Regions from separate parts of the Homo sapiens genome. Here region 2 is linked to region 1. Evidence: promoter capture Hi-C in 16 types of primary human blood cells and fetal thymus (Javierre and others, 2016). All regions are on one chromosome and are shown on one strand. The core of a region is centred on a gene start or on the middle of the fragment in contact, and the rest is flanking DNA. Distances in the headings are between cores, read along the strand shown.

Region 1 (7,920 bases), core at 3,841-6,340:
GGGAGAGAGAAATCCAAACTGTCTCCTAGAAGGAGAGAAGTTAGACAGGGCTACCTAGCTCAAAAGTGTGAAGTCAGTCAGTCCTCCCATGTTCCTCTAGGAACCGTTCTTCACCCTCCTAGAAGTCATTGTGTTATTGGAAAAGTTTCTTAACTTCTCACAATGTCAGTTTTATGCATATGTAAAATGGGAATAATCATAATGCCTGTCTCTTAAAGATGGAATGAGGGCTAACACGCATGGAAAGCTCATGGCACAGAGCCTGCCATATAACAGGCATTCCACAACTGTGAAGCCAGCATGAATGCCTCACTTAATAGAGGAGAAAACTGAGGCCCGGAGAGATGAAGATTCTTGGCCCAAGTTCAAAAGCATCAGGCTGCATCTCTGTCTACCACCCTGCAACCAGACTTGTCCTCTTGTATTTAAAAAAACAATAAAATATAATAAAGTTGAGGAGAAACCATCGGATTTAAAAATGAATGTCCTAAGTCTAAAAGTCAAGATCTGTATCTTGAGACACAAGAAATTTCCTGTTAATGATGAACGTACATCATTAGAGTTTCTTATCTTTCAAATTCTAGAGATTTATATGGGGATTCTTTGAATTACATACAAATATTTTTAACCTTTATAAGATTTATATCAAGTGGTATATTAATACCATCTGTGGCCAGTACAAATTCCACCCTACACCCCGGAATTCCATGTATTATGAATTAAGTATTCTGTCTATTCCATTTGGGTCTATAAGCATTCTTATCATGTCTATTTGTTTAAGGACCTCTTTTAAGAAACAGCTCATTTAATATTTTGTGTTTGAACCATCTTGAAGGCAAATATTACAGTCATTTTCCTTTTACATAGAAAAAATACATATCATGAAAATAAAATAATACAAAATAACATTCATGGGTTCCGAGGGCATATCTCCCAGGATGTGAAGTACTGCCTCACTCTGGTAGTATGGTCAGCTGGAGGTAACTAGGAAACAAGCTAACAAAACAAAAGGCTGAACAATCAATAAATTAAACAACAAACCTTCGCTTTGAGATTACTAGGTGATATAGAACAGGAAGGCATGTGGCTGTCCTGACAACCAGCATCTATTCCTCCCTGGCTGGAGTTGAGGTGATGGGAGGGAAATTGAGTGACAGCAGAAAGAATCTCTGTAAGCAGAGCTCTCAGAGTGACACCTTTGGGGACCCAAGGCCAGCCGGGGTTAAGATTAGTGTGAATGCTCTGAAATGTCTGCTTGGTGTTGGCCACACCCTTCCAGGGCCCCTGGCCTGCCCTGCCCTGGCATGGCCAGTTATGTCTGGAATTCAGGGCTGTCATCCCCTCCCCAAGCTCTCTTGTGGGGTCCCTGGTGTGGCTTTTCCTCCCACAGTCCCTCGTTTGCCTTTATTATCAGTAGCTGCTCCCCACAGTGGTGGCATCATGAGTGCTGGAGAGCTTTCTCTGCCTCAGCACTCTTGGCCTCGCCTCTGGGCGTCCTCTGAGATTGCTGTCACCACCAGGCCGGCTATGGACTCTCTATAAGATGGTGGGGCCTCTGGGTGGGAGTCATTTCCATCCTGGAATTCCAGGCCCGTCTCTGTATATAGAGGTGGAGGAATGCCAGAGGCCTCTCTCTCTGCAGGACAGCTCTGCTTTTCCACCTCAAGGCTCTCTTCATAAGCTGGAGGGTAAAAGTCTGGCCTAGGGGACAAAACAGCATAAACATGCGTGCGTTATTTAGGCATTAATGCCAAAGAGGCAGACGGCTGCCTCTCTCAGCTCAAATTGTGCGAAGCTAAACTGTTAAGAAACATGGATTTTTGAAACAGATGTACTTCTTCCTGGCATCACCAGTTTTTTAAAAATGTGCTGCTCTTCCAAAAGAACCTTTTTATCAGCCACAGGATGCCTGCCTCTAGTCACATTTTTTTCCCAGTGGGTTATGCCAAGCTATTCCTTCTCTATTGCTCATTCACTCATGAAAACAGGGCCATTCAGTGTGAGATCCTTGTCAACATTAGAGGAGGTGGGGGCTTTGGATAGGGAACTTCTCTCTACCGAGTACTTAGTCCATCCACATCCTTGCTCCCTTTCTCGCATGGCATCATCCCCTCAATTGCACTCACTTTCTCTGATCATCACAGCCAACAAAATAATGAATGAAAACCAACTCTGTGCTGATCCCTGAACTATACCAGATGCCATGTCTCTATCCTAACACCCTTTCGAGACTCAGTAGCTAGTTTCAAAGAAAATATACAAACATATTCATTTCTCAAATGATATCAACTGACAACTTTACACAGATTTCAGTTGTAGCCCTTTCTATGCCAGTAGGCTAAAGCAGCCATTCATTCGGGGGCTGATGTACTCATTGGTCATCTTGCCTGGCATTTCTAATTGCTAAATCCTCCTGGCTTCTCCATCATGAATGAATTTGGGGGAAGGGGAGAGGGGAGGAAGAGAGACCGGTGAGCTTGGCTGAGTTGTGTATTTATAGAGTGATCCTTCCAGTGCCTACAGGGAGTGTTTATGGTGTGTAACCACAACAGAACAGGGACTGCCATTTGTAGCCACAACTCCATTCCAAATGTTACCAGGCCCAAAGCCAGTAGCTGAAGAAGCTGTCTACTATAAGGCATAAATCTCAGCCTTCGCTCAGAATAGCCAAGGCTGAGTCACGGGGCACATGTGTAAAGGCATTTTACACAGAAAGGTGAGATGTTCCCTGGAGTGATGTGAAAGGTTCCAGGATGACTGCTGCCTGCCCCAAATCCCAGCTACCTCTCCCAACCCCACCCTCCTTCAACTGCCATCCATATTCCCAGTCCCCTGAATTCCATCATCGGAGACCCATTTGCTTTGATATCTCAACCTGGGTATCCATTTTGAGTGCAAATGCTTTGGAGAAATGTGACTTCCCAGGCTGACTTGCCAGCCATTCTGCGTGGGATAAGCATCTTATTACATGCAGCGAGAAGAGGCAGTAAAATGGGGGTGTTACGATGTCCATAATTTACTTTCAAACATTTCAGTATACTGTAATATTATGCAGTGTTAGTCAATTTAAGCTATATCCTAAAGGCAATCAGTTACATTTATCAGAAATTCACACTCTAGAGGTAGTCCTCTAACATTTATACAAAAAGAAATCATCACTCTAGAGGCATCTTCTACAATCACTTCATTTCTCTTAATTTTTAATCAAACCCAGAAACTCTGCTGGTTAGTATAACATTGGAAATAAGTTTTGGTTTTCATAATTATTATCTTATTAATTAGCATAAAGGATGCCAAAAGTGGATGCTCATGGGTAAGATTACTTATATTCAAGATACATGGAGTAGCTAAAATATTTTAGATACTTTCTACTCTTGCACGAAGAGGGCAAAATAATTATAGTCTTGTAGCCTGTATCTTGAGAATGATGCCTAGGGTGTTATCCCTAAATGGTCCTGTGGCTAGCCAAGAATTAGGAGGTTTCTTGTTGCCTGATACTGACTATAAGATTAACTGAATCTTTTTTTTCTTGTGGTAAAATATATATGACATAAAATTTACTGTTTTTAAGTGTATAGCTCAGTGGCACTAAATACACTCATATTGCTCTACAACCATCACCTTAAAACTCTCTACTCATTAAACAATAGGTCCCCAGTCTCTCCTTCCACCAGCCCCTGGGACCACTGTTCTACTTTCTGTGTCTGTGAATTTGACTACGCTAAGTACTCATGTAAGTGGAATTATACAATATTTGCCCTTTGTAACTGACTTGTTTCACTTAGCATAATGTTTTCAACTTCATCCAAGTGGTGGCATGTGCCAGGATTTCCTTCCTTTTTAAGGCTAATATTCCATTGCATGTATATACCACATTTTGTTTATCTACTCACCTGTTGATGGACATTTGGGCTATTATGAATAAATGTTGCTACAAGCATTGGTGTACAAACATCCATTTGAATCCCTGCTTTCAGTTCCTTTGTGTATAAACTCAGAATGTAGAATTGCCAGATCAAACAGTAATTCAATATTTAATGTATAGAGGAGTCTCCACACTGTTTTCCACAGTGGTTGCACCATTTTAACATTCCCACCAGCAATGCACAGCGTTCCAATTTATTGACATCCTCACCAACACTAGCTGTTTGGTTTTGTTTTTTGATGATAACTATCCTAATGTATGAGATGGCGAGAAAGAATGAATCTTGCCTCTAGAATATTATCACCTTCCCCTGAAGGAATGTTTTATGCAAGGTGAGATCACAACACCTAAAAGGACAGTAAACTGGGACTTTTCTGAGCTCACAGAGATTCCAGGACTCATTTTATGCCTGCTTCTTCATTTGTTGTGTGGCAGAATTTGGTCTGGGACTTGCTTTCCTTAGAACCTCATAGCCAGGTTATGGGAAGTAACTAACCATCACCTGCCACTAATTAATGACAGCTGCCATGATATAACAAAAGAGCCTGGGTTTCTAAATTGGCTTAGGTGGGTTTTCACTGGGGGTGGTGGTAGGGTTTCTCTGAGATGAGTTGCCCCTGCGTCATGGTTTTCCCCAAAGATGGCGCCACTCTTCCTAATAACAACCCCAGAGTAATTCCCTGACAATAAAGCTTTGGTTCTAGACAGACAGCCCATGGGACATGTAAGTCGCTCCATAGTAGGATCAGAAATTACTCAGATCTTACACAACTCAGCCCATCTCAGCCCTTCTTGGTCCCTCTGCCTGTCAGCACGTACCTGTCTACTGTGGCCACGGGCAGGGCCCCATGAGCAAGGTGTTGTCGGAGCATGTGCCTCAACACTCCTTTGCTTTCAGTCACCTGGCGATAGTTGCTCCAGAAAATTCCACTCAGAAGGATCACAAACCCCAGAGGCAGAAGCAAATAGGCCGCAATCAGGCTCCCCTGACAGTCGAATATGGAGCCCCAGGAAATGAAGAAGGCCCCCAGGCAGACCATCAGGAAACCCATCAGGAGGGCAAGAGCACAGAGAATGAGGCCAGTTCTGTTCTGCATCCTTGCACCTTAGGAACCCAGCACCCTGACCCTGCTGCTCCTCTGCTTCCCTGCTTGCTCCAAGAGAATGAGCTCATTAGCCAGCTTGCAGCTTTATATGCTCTGGGACCCACTGGCCTTTGGACAACTAAATGAAACAGGCACTTAGAAGCTATTCATTAACCATTGAAAGTAAGTGTAATATCCTTGGAGAATTAGCCAAAAAACATAGCATTGTATACTGCAGGCAGGAGTGGCTTCGTGTAGCTGTTTTGTTCTTCAGAGTTGGGTGGGACACTCAGCTGTTCCCAGTTATTTGAACGTACAGCCCTCCTTTGATTAAAAGGCGCTGGTCTCTTAATCCCCATGGAGGGCAATTCCCCACTAAAAGCTGGAGAAGTTAGCACTCTTTAAAGAACGATCTTCTTTGAGGTTTGGTAAGAAATCCCTTCCTGATTCCTTCTCCCTTTTTCTGTACTAAAAAGGCATTTCTTCAAGGCTGTTAACATGTTTGTCTTGCCTCCCTCAATGAATCCCCACTTATTGCCCCCACACTATGATACTGGCATAATTCCAAGACAGAAGTTCAGAGTGTGAACTTCGTGGTTCCTGCTCTGTTGACAAGATCGAAAGAGCCTGAGTGGGAGGGAAAGGAGAGTGCTGGAGAAAAGGACTATAATAGACAGAGCCTCGGGAATTTGGGGGGATTTTGGGCCTGTAATTCCTGCAATCTTTCCCCCTTTCATAAAGTACATATGAAATAGAATTCGTTTTAGAGGATGCTGCTAAAAATGTTCCCTGTCCTCTCCTCCACACCTCTGCTCTATGTAGCATTGCCTCAAAAAATCTTTCCAGAACCAGCCTTCTGTTTCCTGGCTGGAATTTGTTTTCTTTAGCTTGACTGTCTTTGATTGTGGATAGCTTATTTCAGACGTGCTTTATGCCCTGGCTCTGCCCTTTTTTATTTGATAATGTGGCATGTCTCTGCCAAAAGTCTCCTTCCCATAGGAACCCTGGGTTGCTTTTACTCAGGATAGCTTATCTTCAGTTCCTCTTTGCTGCTGTTCCACTCCACTACTCCATTACCATTATTTTCCATTTACTTTCCCAATGAGAGCAGCAGTTTTTTGTGGCGTGCCCTAATAATCCCTCATATAACCTTTAGTCTCACACTCACCATCTCCTTAGCTCTACCTTCATGTTAGGGCTGGGAGACACGGATATTAGAGAGGTACACACTATGGATCAAAAACTATATAAGGCACTTCTCCATTCCAACCCTTAGCCTTTACCTTTCTTAGCTTCAATTTCGACCTTGAACTACCTTGATCTTCTAGTCTTGATATTGTCTTTGTAATCTTAAAACAGCTCTTATTCCCTCCTTCCCCAAACTGTGAGATGGAATATTTCTAAGATGATCCCTAAGGATCCCACCTCCTGATATTCATGTCCTTGTGTAAGTAATCCTCTCCCCTGAGTGTAGGCTGGACCTAGTGACTTCATTCTAATCAATAGAATATGGTAACGGTGATCGGAAGTTACTTCCGTGGAGGCTACACAAGATTGTGGTTTTCATCTTTCTAGCAGACTCTCTCTATTGTCCTCTTGGCTTACGCCCTTTGAAGAAGGAAGCTGCCATATTGGAGAGGCCCATGAGGCAAGGAATTGAGGGCAGGTTCTGGCCAACAGTCACTGAAGAACTGAGGCCCTTAGTCCGTCAGCCCATGAGGAACTGCATCCTGTCAATGACCACGTGAGCTTGCAATCAAATCCTCATCCCACTGAGCCTTGAGATGACTCTGCTCCCAAGCATCACCTTGACTCAGTGACCCTGAAGTAGAGGACCCAGGTAAGTCATACTCGGATTCCTGACCCACAGAAACTGTGAGATAAAACGTTTCAGCCAGGGTCCTGGATGCCACAAGATGGCAAGAGCCATAATCAATGAATGCATTATGATCAAATCATTTCATGTTTATGGATGTCACTATTTTAACAAATAAAAGAGGTCAAAAGTTTAAAAAAAGTATATTTTAAAAATATGCTAAGTTTTGTGGCCATTTTTTAGATAGCAGTAGATAACTAAAAAAATTCTCTTAGAACTTTGAAAATCAGAAGAGACAATCAATGTTAAGTATTTATCATAGTACCTGGCACAGAGAGTGCCCTGTGAAGGTTATCTATAATCACCATCACCAATATTGTTATTATCATTGCTGTTACAATTCCAAAAATCTGTGGAAGACCCAGGACCCCCAGCTGAAAGGTCTGCACTAGGAGTTGGGTCCCAGGAACAGGTAGATGGTAAAGCCCCAGGATAATGTTAAGAATCAGGTGATGGAGGAAGAGTACTCTCAATCGGAACTGCCCATCAGACAGTTGGGCTTCTCTGTTTTAGACAAAAATGGAGGCAGAAATTAGACTGGGGATTATGACAGGTCAGGCCTCATTCTTGTGATCACATCAACACATGAGTAAATAAGTTTCTCTATACTTTTTCCTCCTCCATGCCAATAAAGTACACTAGAACCATTGCCTTATAGTTTGTCAGACAGTTCCTTCCCCTCCAGTGCCCTTTGAGGAGGCTCCTGTCATTCCACAGCAGTGTTGTTGTTGTGATGGTGGTGGTGGTATGTTTTTGGTGAGAAATTAGGTATGGAAGAGCAAAATCCAGGAAGTGGCAGGGGGATGGAAGGACTCAGTCCCTTTACATAAAATTTATGTGAAATTAAGAATAGTTCCTGGGCTCAGGGTATTTGAGGAATTTATTTTGGGCATCAAGGGGAAAAGGCTGGGAATATTTGCAGCATCTGTGGGAAGGAGACGAGAAAAGGAAAAAAAATCAATATGGAAATATGAAGTATCACAGGGAACCATATTTCTCCTTCAAAATGACTAAGAAATACTAATGAACACCAC
Region 2 (7,920 bases), core at 3,035-5,534, 4.7 Mb before region 1:
CTGCTTATTGACAATTCACCTAGCTCCCCAGAAGCTTAGATGGAGATGTACTTGGAAATTAATGTTATTTTCATGGCTGCTAGTACAATATTTACCTTCAGCCTGTGGATCAAGGAGTGGTTTTGACTTTCAAGTGTTTTTATTAATTAATAATTGCATTTTGTAAAGGTATAGCTGTCATAGATAGTGATTTCTTTGATGAATCTGGATAAACTGAATTGAAAACCTTTTGGAAAGGATTCACCATTAATCCTTTCATGATATTTGAACCTCCTCCCGTGAATCACAAATGTCCTTAATAGCAATCCTTAAATGCCATTAAGGACATTTGTGATTGATGGGAGGAGGATGAAATATTAACATTAACAGGAGTTTGGAAGAAGTTGATTCCAGCCCTCATGGATGACTTTGAGGGCTCAGGATGTCAGTGGAGGAAGTCCCTGCAGATGTGGTAGAAATCACAAGACAACTAGAATTAGAATTAGGGCCTTAAGGTGAGATGAAATTGCTGTAAACTCATGATGAAACTTGAACAAATAGGGAGTTGCTTCTTATGGACGAGCAAAGAAAATATTTTCTTGAGATGGAATATAATCCAGGTGGAGATGCTATCAACATTGTTGAAATGACAACAAAGGATTTAGAATATTCCATAAACCTAGTTGATAAAGCAGCAGCAGGGTTTGAGAGGGTTTACTCCAATTTTGAAAGAAGTTCTACTGTTGATAAAATGCTGTCAAACAGCATCACATGCTACAGGGAAATCTTTTGTGAAAGGAACAAACTTCATTGTTTTAAAAAATTGACACAGGTTTCCAACCTTCAGCAGCCCCCACGCTGATTAGCCAGCAGTCATCAATATAGAGGCAAGACTCTCACCAGCAAAAAGATTATGACGTGGTAAGTCTCAGATATTCATTAGCATTTTTTAGCTCTGACGTATTTTAACTTAAGGTATGTACACAGTTTTTTAGACATGCTATTAATTAATAACTAATAATTATTAAATACTCATTAGACTACAATATAGTTTAAGCATAACTTTTATAAGCACCGGGAAATAAAATGTTTATGCAACTAACTTGATTGTAACATTTGCCTTATTGAAGTGTTCTGGAACAAAACTTACACTATCTCTGAGGTGTGCTTGTAGGTTTTTGTTTGTAACATTTGCCTTACTGCAGTTGTCTGGAACCAAACCCACAATATCTCTGAGTATGCTTCTAGGTTTTTGGTTGTTCTTTGTTTTGAGATGGGGTTTCGCTCTGTCGCCTAGGCCAGAGTGCAGTGGCATGATCATAGCTCACTGCAGCCTCAAACTGCTGGGTCAAGTGATTTTTCTACCACAGCCTCCTGAGTAGCTTGGACTACAGGCATGCAGCACTATGCCTAGCTATTTTTTTTTAAATACTTTTTTTGTAGAGACGGGATCTCACTATGTTGCCCACCTGGTCTTGAACTCTGGGGCTCAGGCAATCCAGCCACTTCAGCCTCCCAAAATGCAGACATTACAGGCTTGAGCAACTGCACCCAGCTTGTCTGCAGTTCTTAAAACAAAACGGCCAGGTGCGGTGTGTGACGCCTGTAATCCCAGCACTTTGGGAGGCCAAGGCGGGTGAATCACAAGGTCAGGAGTTCAAGACCAGCCTGGCCAAGATGGTGAACGCAGTCTCTACTAAAAATACAAAAATTAGCCAGGCACAGTGGCGGGCACCTGTAGTTCCAGCTACTCGGGAGGCCGAGGCAGGAGACTCGCTTGAACCCGGGAGGCGGAGGTTGCAGTAAGCCGAGATCGTGCCACTGCACTCCTGCCTTGCGACAGAGCAAGACTCCATCAAAAAAAAATGTAATTTAAAAGATTAAAAGTTAAGATAGATTTTTACAAATGTATATATCTACCATTATAGTATCATACAGAATGGTTTTACTGCCGTGAAGATTCTCTGTGCTCTGTGTATCCATCTCTTCCTTCCCCTTGGTCCATGGCAACCACTGATCTTTCTACTGATCCCATAGTTTCACCGTTTCCAGAACGTCATATAATTGGAATCGAACAGTACGTAGACTTTTCGGATTGGCTTCTTCTTTTAGCAATATGCATTTAAGTTTCCTCCATGTATTTTTTTGTGGCTTGATAGTTCATCTCCTGTTAGCAGTGAATAATATCCCGTTGCCATTATACTTTTGTCAAGACTCAGAACGTACAACGTGAAGAGTAAACGTGAATGTGCACTGTAAGCTTTGAGTGATAATGAAGGATCAAGGTAGGTTCCTGGTTGTCACAGGTGTGCTCCTGTGAGGCAGGAAGCTGTAGTGGGGAGGCTGTGTGTGGGGAAAGGGACATATGAGAAGTCTGTACTCTCTGCTACGTTTAGCTGTGAACCTGCACTTCTCTAAAAAATAAAATTAGTTAAAATTAAAAGCAAAAAATTAGAAAAATTAAAACATTACAATGTGTTATATAGTTTTCAAATCACAAGACAGAAAAAGACATAATAAAAGAAACTATAGAAAACAACAAGGATAGGAATAAAACATCAGTGATAGAAGGCAGAAGACAGAAATGTGGAGCCAAACACATTAATTTATTTTAATCATTAGTTATACTCATTTATACTAATTTATATTGATTTAACATATTAATTCTGACTAAATGGCATTAAAGGAGGTCTGAGGAATTTGCATGTCACATTCTGGATGACAGGACTCAATAATATTAACTCTTTAGTTGGCTGTAAATCATTTAAAAATATGCTCAAATTCCAATAAAAATTCCAAGAAAAATATTTTCGAACAAGAACATGTGATTTTAAATCCATATATTGAACACACACATACAATGAGAGCCATTATTATAAAATTTACTATAAGATATTTAAGATTATTATCACTATCCAAAATTAAACAAATTTGAAATGGCACAAAAATAAACACATTAATGAAAGAGAATTAAAAACACAGAAATTGAGTGTAATTTTATCTAGTAACAGGGTAACATTTTAAACCCACAAAACAGAGCGATTGTTCCATTTGTGGTATTAAAATATTGGGTAATGATTTCAGAATATAAAATGACAGAATTGAATCATGGTCCTACACCTTACATAAAAGTTAATTCCAGTATTAAATGTAAAAAAAAAAGAGAGAGAAAAAAGAAAATTAGATGTGTGTGTTTTATGACCTTGAGAATGAATGTCTTCTAAAACCAAAATTTCAAACAGAAACCATATAAAAAGGAATAAACCTAACGTACCTAATATGTAAATTCTTAAACATTTTAACACCAGGTAAATAGCACAAAACAAACTGGGGAAACTTTTACAGCAATTATGTTACATGAAAGTTAAAATCCTTATGACATATACAATGTATAAAACAATATGATTACTGCTATTATTAATAGCATTATGATTACCTGGTCTTCCCACGCACCAGTCCTCTTCTGGTGCCCTGTGGTGAAACAGAGCCCTCCCTCTCTGGCCACAGTGAGGGATCCAGCAGGAACCCGTGCCTAAACCCACAGAGGGTGTGAGCCAAGCCAGGACATCACATTCCCTCCTGCGAAATGATGCAGATACCCACTCACGACAGAGATTTGGTCCCTCTCTGGAAAAGCTGTGTAACAATTATTGCAGAAACTTGTTTCTTATGTTCCCAGACACATGGAGAAAGCTGGTCTGGAAGACTGATGTCCACATGCTAAAAGCAGTCACTCATAACACACACACTGCACACACCACACCATGTGCACATGCACACACACCCCACACACAGACACCACACAAACAGCACACACACCATGTGCGCATGCACACACACACCCCATACCCACTGCCCACACCCCACAAACACACCTACTGCACACACACCATGTGCACATGCATACACCCCATACAGACACCACACACAGACACCACACTGCACCCACACCATGTATACATGCACACACCCCACACACTGTACACACACGATGTGCACACATGCATACCTCTGACACCACACACACTGTGTACACATCATGTGCACACACACCCCCCCACAGACATCACACACACCACACAGTACATGTACCCGTGCACATACCCCCACACCACACACGAATCTACTACACATACATCACACACATACAGCACCACACACATCACACACCCCATACATACTCCCCACACACACCACACACCCCACACATACTCCCCACACACTGCACACGTACATACAGTGCCACACACATAGAGCAAACACATACCTCACATACATACACCACACCACACACACATTCTACAAACACATCAAGCACACATCAAACACTACACACACTGCACACACACAGCATCATACACACACAAAACACACACATCACATACACCACACACATATCACATGCACACATCACATATAGTACACATACACACCAAACACACATACACCACAAACACAGCACATATACACACCATGCACCACCCACATACTACACACAGTATACACACATAACACCCACAATACACTCCACACACACATATACATACCCCGTGTACCTACTACACACACAGACCACACACACATATCATGCATACACCTGCACACACCTCACAGAATACATACAATCCTCACTTTTAGAAATTAATTTGGCTTTTAAGGAGCCTGGATAGTAAAGTATTTTATTGGCGTTTGAGTGAGCCAAGAAAATGCGTATAAATACACATGCATAACTATGAGGGCCCAAGCAGCACTTTCGAAATCACAACATGAGATTAAACCGTGTAAATTTTTTATTGTTTTTAAAAAGTCAACTCTTTCTCATTTTACTAGAAACTATTTACCAGAGTAAACTAATGAGATTCTTCCTGAGGTCAAAAGACTTTCTGGAAAAACTTCTCCTTGATGAAATTGCACTTAAAACATCACTTTCATCGTGAAGTATTTCTTTAAGATGTTCTTGGTCCTTTTCCTGTTATGTGGAATCGTCAATTCAAATTTTTAAAAGTGACTCTGATATGTTTTTCATCTATTATTTAAAAAATGTTGAAGGGCTTTTTAATTCTGCCTTCAGCAGAGATCGACACACTCTGATTATGATGTAAAACTGAATACGTTACTCTGACAGGCTTTCTCCTCTGCAGCGCCGCTACCATCATTATTAATAATGATTGAATGCTTTTACTCCATGCACAATCTATATTCCCTGCTTTATAAAGAATAGAAATCTAATTCTCACTATGAAGGCAGATAAAAGTAATCCCTTCAATCTACAGATGACTGAATCATTTACCAAAGCACTCAGACTTTAAATAGAATTTATCAAATGTGTCTATATTTCTATGCATATAATTCATATAAAGAACATGTAGTTTAAATCATTGCACATTTTATGCTTTTAATCAGTTGTGATGGTCATTAGTATTTTTATCACATTTCTCCAAAGGTAGGCTAATCACTGTTATTATTTTCAGCTAGAAATATAAAAGGTATTTTCTATTTTTGATGACTTTGAAACATAACCCTTGGAATATAATATCTGTGTATAATATCTGTGGAAAGCATGAAAGTAATATTCAAACAGTATGCATTTTTTCCAGAATGAAAATTTCCTCTACAATAACATTCATCCTTTTTTCCTGATGGACACATAAAAGTCAACATTTCTAACATTGCTGGACGTTATTTACATTAAACTTGCCTCAGCTTCAGGTGTTGCAGAAACTGGGCAAGAGGCCACAAGGTACACAATACACACACACACACACAAACTTGTATTATTATACTTACCTAAGTGTCTAAAGAGGTGGATAAATATATTAGATTGCTCCAGAACAAGGATTTTTATGGGGCCTATTGGAAAGTATGACTGCAGTTTGAGTGAGATGCCTGTAAGAGATTCAATTTGGCCACTATTTATTGAGTATCCAATTTTAAAAGTACTGACAGAAGGCTCATGAGTTAGAAATTTTCACCTAAGTCTATTGGAAATGTGCTACTGGATGCTGTAGTAAAGAGTGGTGTGGTAATTGTAAAACACATCTGATATCTAAACCTTTGTTTTTTACCTGAAATCTTTATGGAGGTGATTGTGTATGTCAATTTGAATCTTCCCATCAACAAGATAAATAAATAAATAGCCAGCCTACCTCGATAAATTAGTTCACCTTTTCGGCAGTGCTTCTCCGCCTTTGACAGCCACAAGATTCGCCCGGGGATCTCCTTAAAATGCAAAACCATAGACCACACTTTGACTAGCTTGGATAAGGGGCCAGAGCATTGAAATGAGTGTGTAGGTGACTGTGCTAAGATTCTCCTGCTCATTTGGGAACTGGCTCGCTCACCATATAAATAAAGCTTAGGACCTCTAGTCCTTGCTGGAAAAGAAATACACATACATAGGATGTGACTGTGCATATGGAATATCTGTTGTGTTCTGGACATTGTGCTAGACAACAGAGATAAGGAGTCAAATAATCCCTTGTCTGTATTTGAAAAGAGCTTCCGACACAGTGGCTTCTGAGGTCTTTGAAACAAGATTCACTTTCAGATTTGATTATTTTATTTATGATTTGATATTTTCATTGAACCCCATGATATGATAAGGTTTCCAGAACCTGCTAGAACAATTGACTTTGCTTTCAGCATTATGAAGCCACTGAAGCATATAAGTAGTTCATTTATGTTTGTATTTAACCAGACAGGAACAAGTTGAGCTACTTTTCTGGCCACCTTCGTTTAGACCTGTTTTTTTCAGTTATTTTTCTTTGTTTGTTTTTGAAACGGGTCTCACTCTGTCACCTAGGCTGGAATGCAGTGGCGTGATCAGAGCTCACTGCAGCCTCTACCTTCTAGGCTCAAGAAATCCTCTCACCTCAGCCTCCTGAAAAGCTGCGACCACAGGCTCATACCACCATACCCAGCTAATTAAAAAATATATTTTTTTGTACAGACAGGGTTTTTCCATGTTTCCTAGACTTGTCTCCAACTCCTGAGCTCAAGCAATCTGCCTGCCTCAGCCTCCTAAAGTGTAGAGCTGTGTTTTTAGTCTTTTTTGAGCTGTTTTACAATGCAGTTTTGAATTGATAAGTTTGGATTCATTCTGATATTTACAGATTTAACATCCTACTTCACTAGATGCTCATAGCCTTGATCCATTACAGTAGCCACCTTGTCCATCTCTGCTCATAGCCTAAACTAACAGAAGCCAGAGGGAAGAAATGGAAGCCAACATGAGTCCAGAACACACATTTTATAAGAGCATAAGAAATTTAAAAATAGCAAAGTGTATCATGAAGTTTTTAATAGATATGCGTGGCTAAAATTTATTCTCAATCAATATATTCTATAAACTGGGAGAAAATATTAAACACATGAAAAGTAAGGAACTTGGGCTGGGCGCGGTGACTCACGCCTGTAATCCCAGCACTTTGGGAGGCTGAGGTGGGCGGATCACAAAGTCAGGAGATCAAGACCATCCTGGCTAACACGGTGAAACCCCGTCTCTACTAAAAATACAAAAAATTAGCCAGGCATGGTGGCAGGTGCCTGTAGTCCCAGCTACTCGGGAGGCTGAGGCAGGAGAATGCTGTCAACCTGGGAGGCGGAGCTTGCAGTGAACCAAGATCGCGCCACTGCACTCCAGCCTGGGCAACAGAGCAAGACTCCGTCTCAAAAAAAAAAAAAAAAGAAAGAAAGAAAAGTAAGGAACTTTTATCATTATTATATAACTAATATTGGTAAGCTATTGATTATTGCCACAATTTCAGATCCTGTTATTTGTCTATTCAGAGATTCAACTTCTTCCTGGTTTAGTCTTGGGAGAGTGTACGTGTCGAGGAATTTATCCATTTCTTCTAGATTTTCTAGTTTATTTGCGTAGAGGTGTTTGTAGTATTCTCTGATGGTAGTTTGTATTTCTGAGGGATCGGTGGTGATATCCCC

The links. Contacts are between HindIII fragments. The CHiCAGO score rates a contact against its expected background, and 5 or more counts as called.
Region 2: a fragment that was not itself captured here is called in contact with the fragment with the promoter of TMEM252 in region 1 in 2 of 17 cell types (M0 macrophages and monocytes); the score reaches 6.7 in M0 macrophages.

Annotation. Positions count from the first base shown.
Region 1 is chr9:68,535,793-68,543,712 of GRCh38, forward strand. TMEM252 (transmembrane protein 252) reads right to left here and starts at 5,091. Exons shown (of 2, transcript NM_153237.2): 1 at 4,745-5,091; 2 at 788-1,701. The coding sequence starts at 5,022. The coding sequence ends at 1,467. TMEM252-DT (TMEM252 divergent transcript) reads left to right here and starts at 5,233. Exons shown (of 5, transcript NR_187592.1): 1 at 5,233-5,438; 2 at 6,586-6,850. LINC01506 (long intergenic non-protein coding RNA 1506) reads right to left here. Exons shown (of 4, transcript NR_109769.1): 4 at 7,749-7,811. The HindIII fragment of the contact is 3,743 bases long and covers 4,616-7,920 here.
Region 2 is chr9:63,819,306-63,827,225 of GRCh38, forward strand. It overlaps MIR4477B (microRNA 4477b), which reads left to right and starts at 269; the gene lies at 269-349. RefSeq lists an enhancer at 5,140-5,641 and a silencer at 6,070-6,364. The HindIII fragment of the contact is 4,094 bases long and covers 2,238-6,331 here.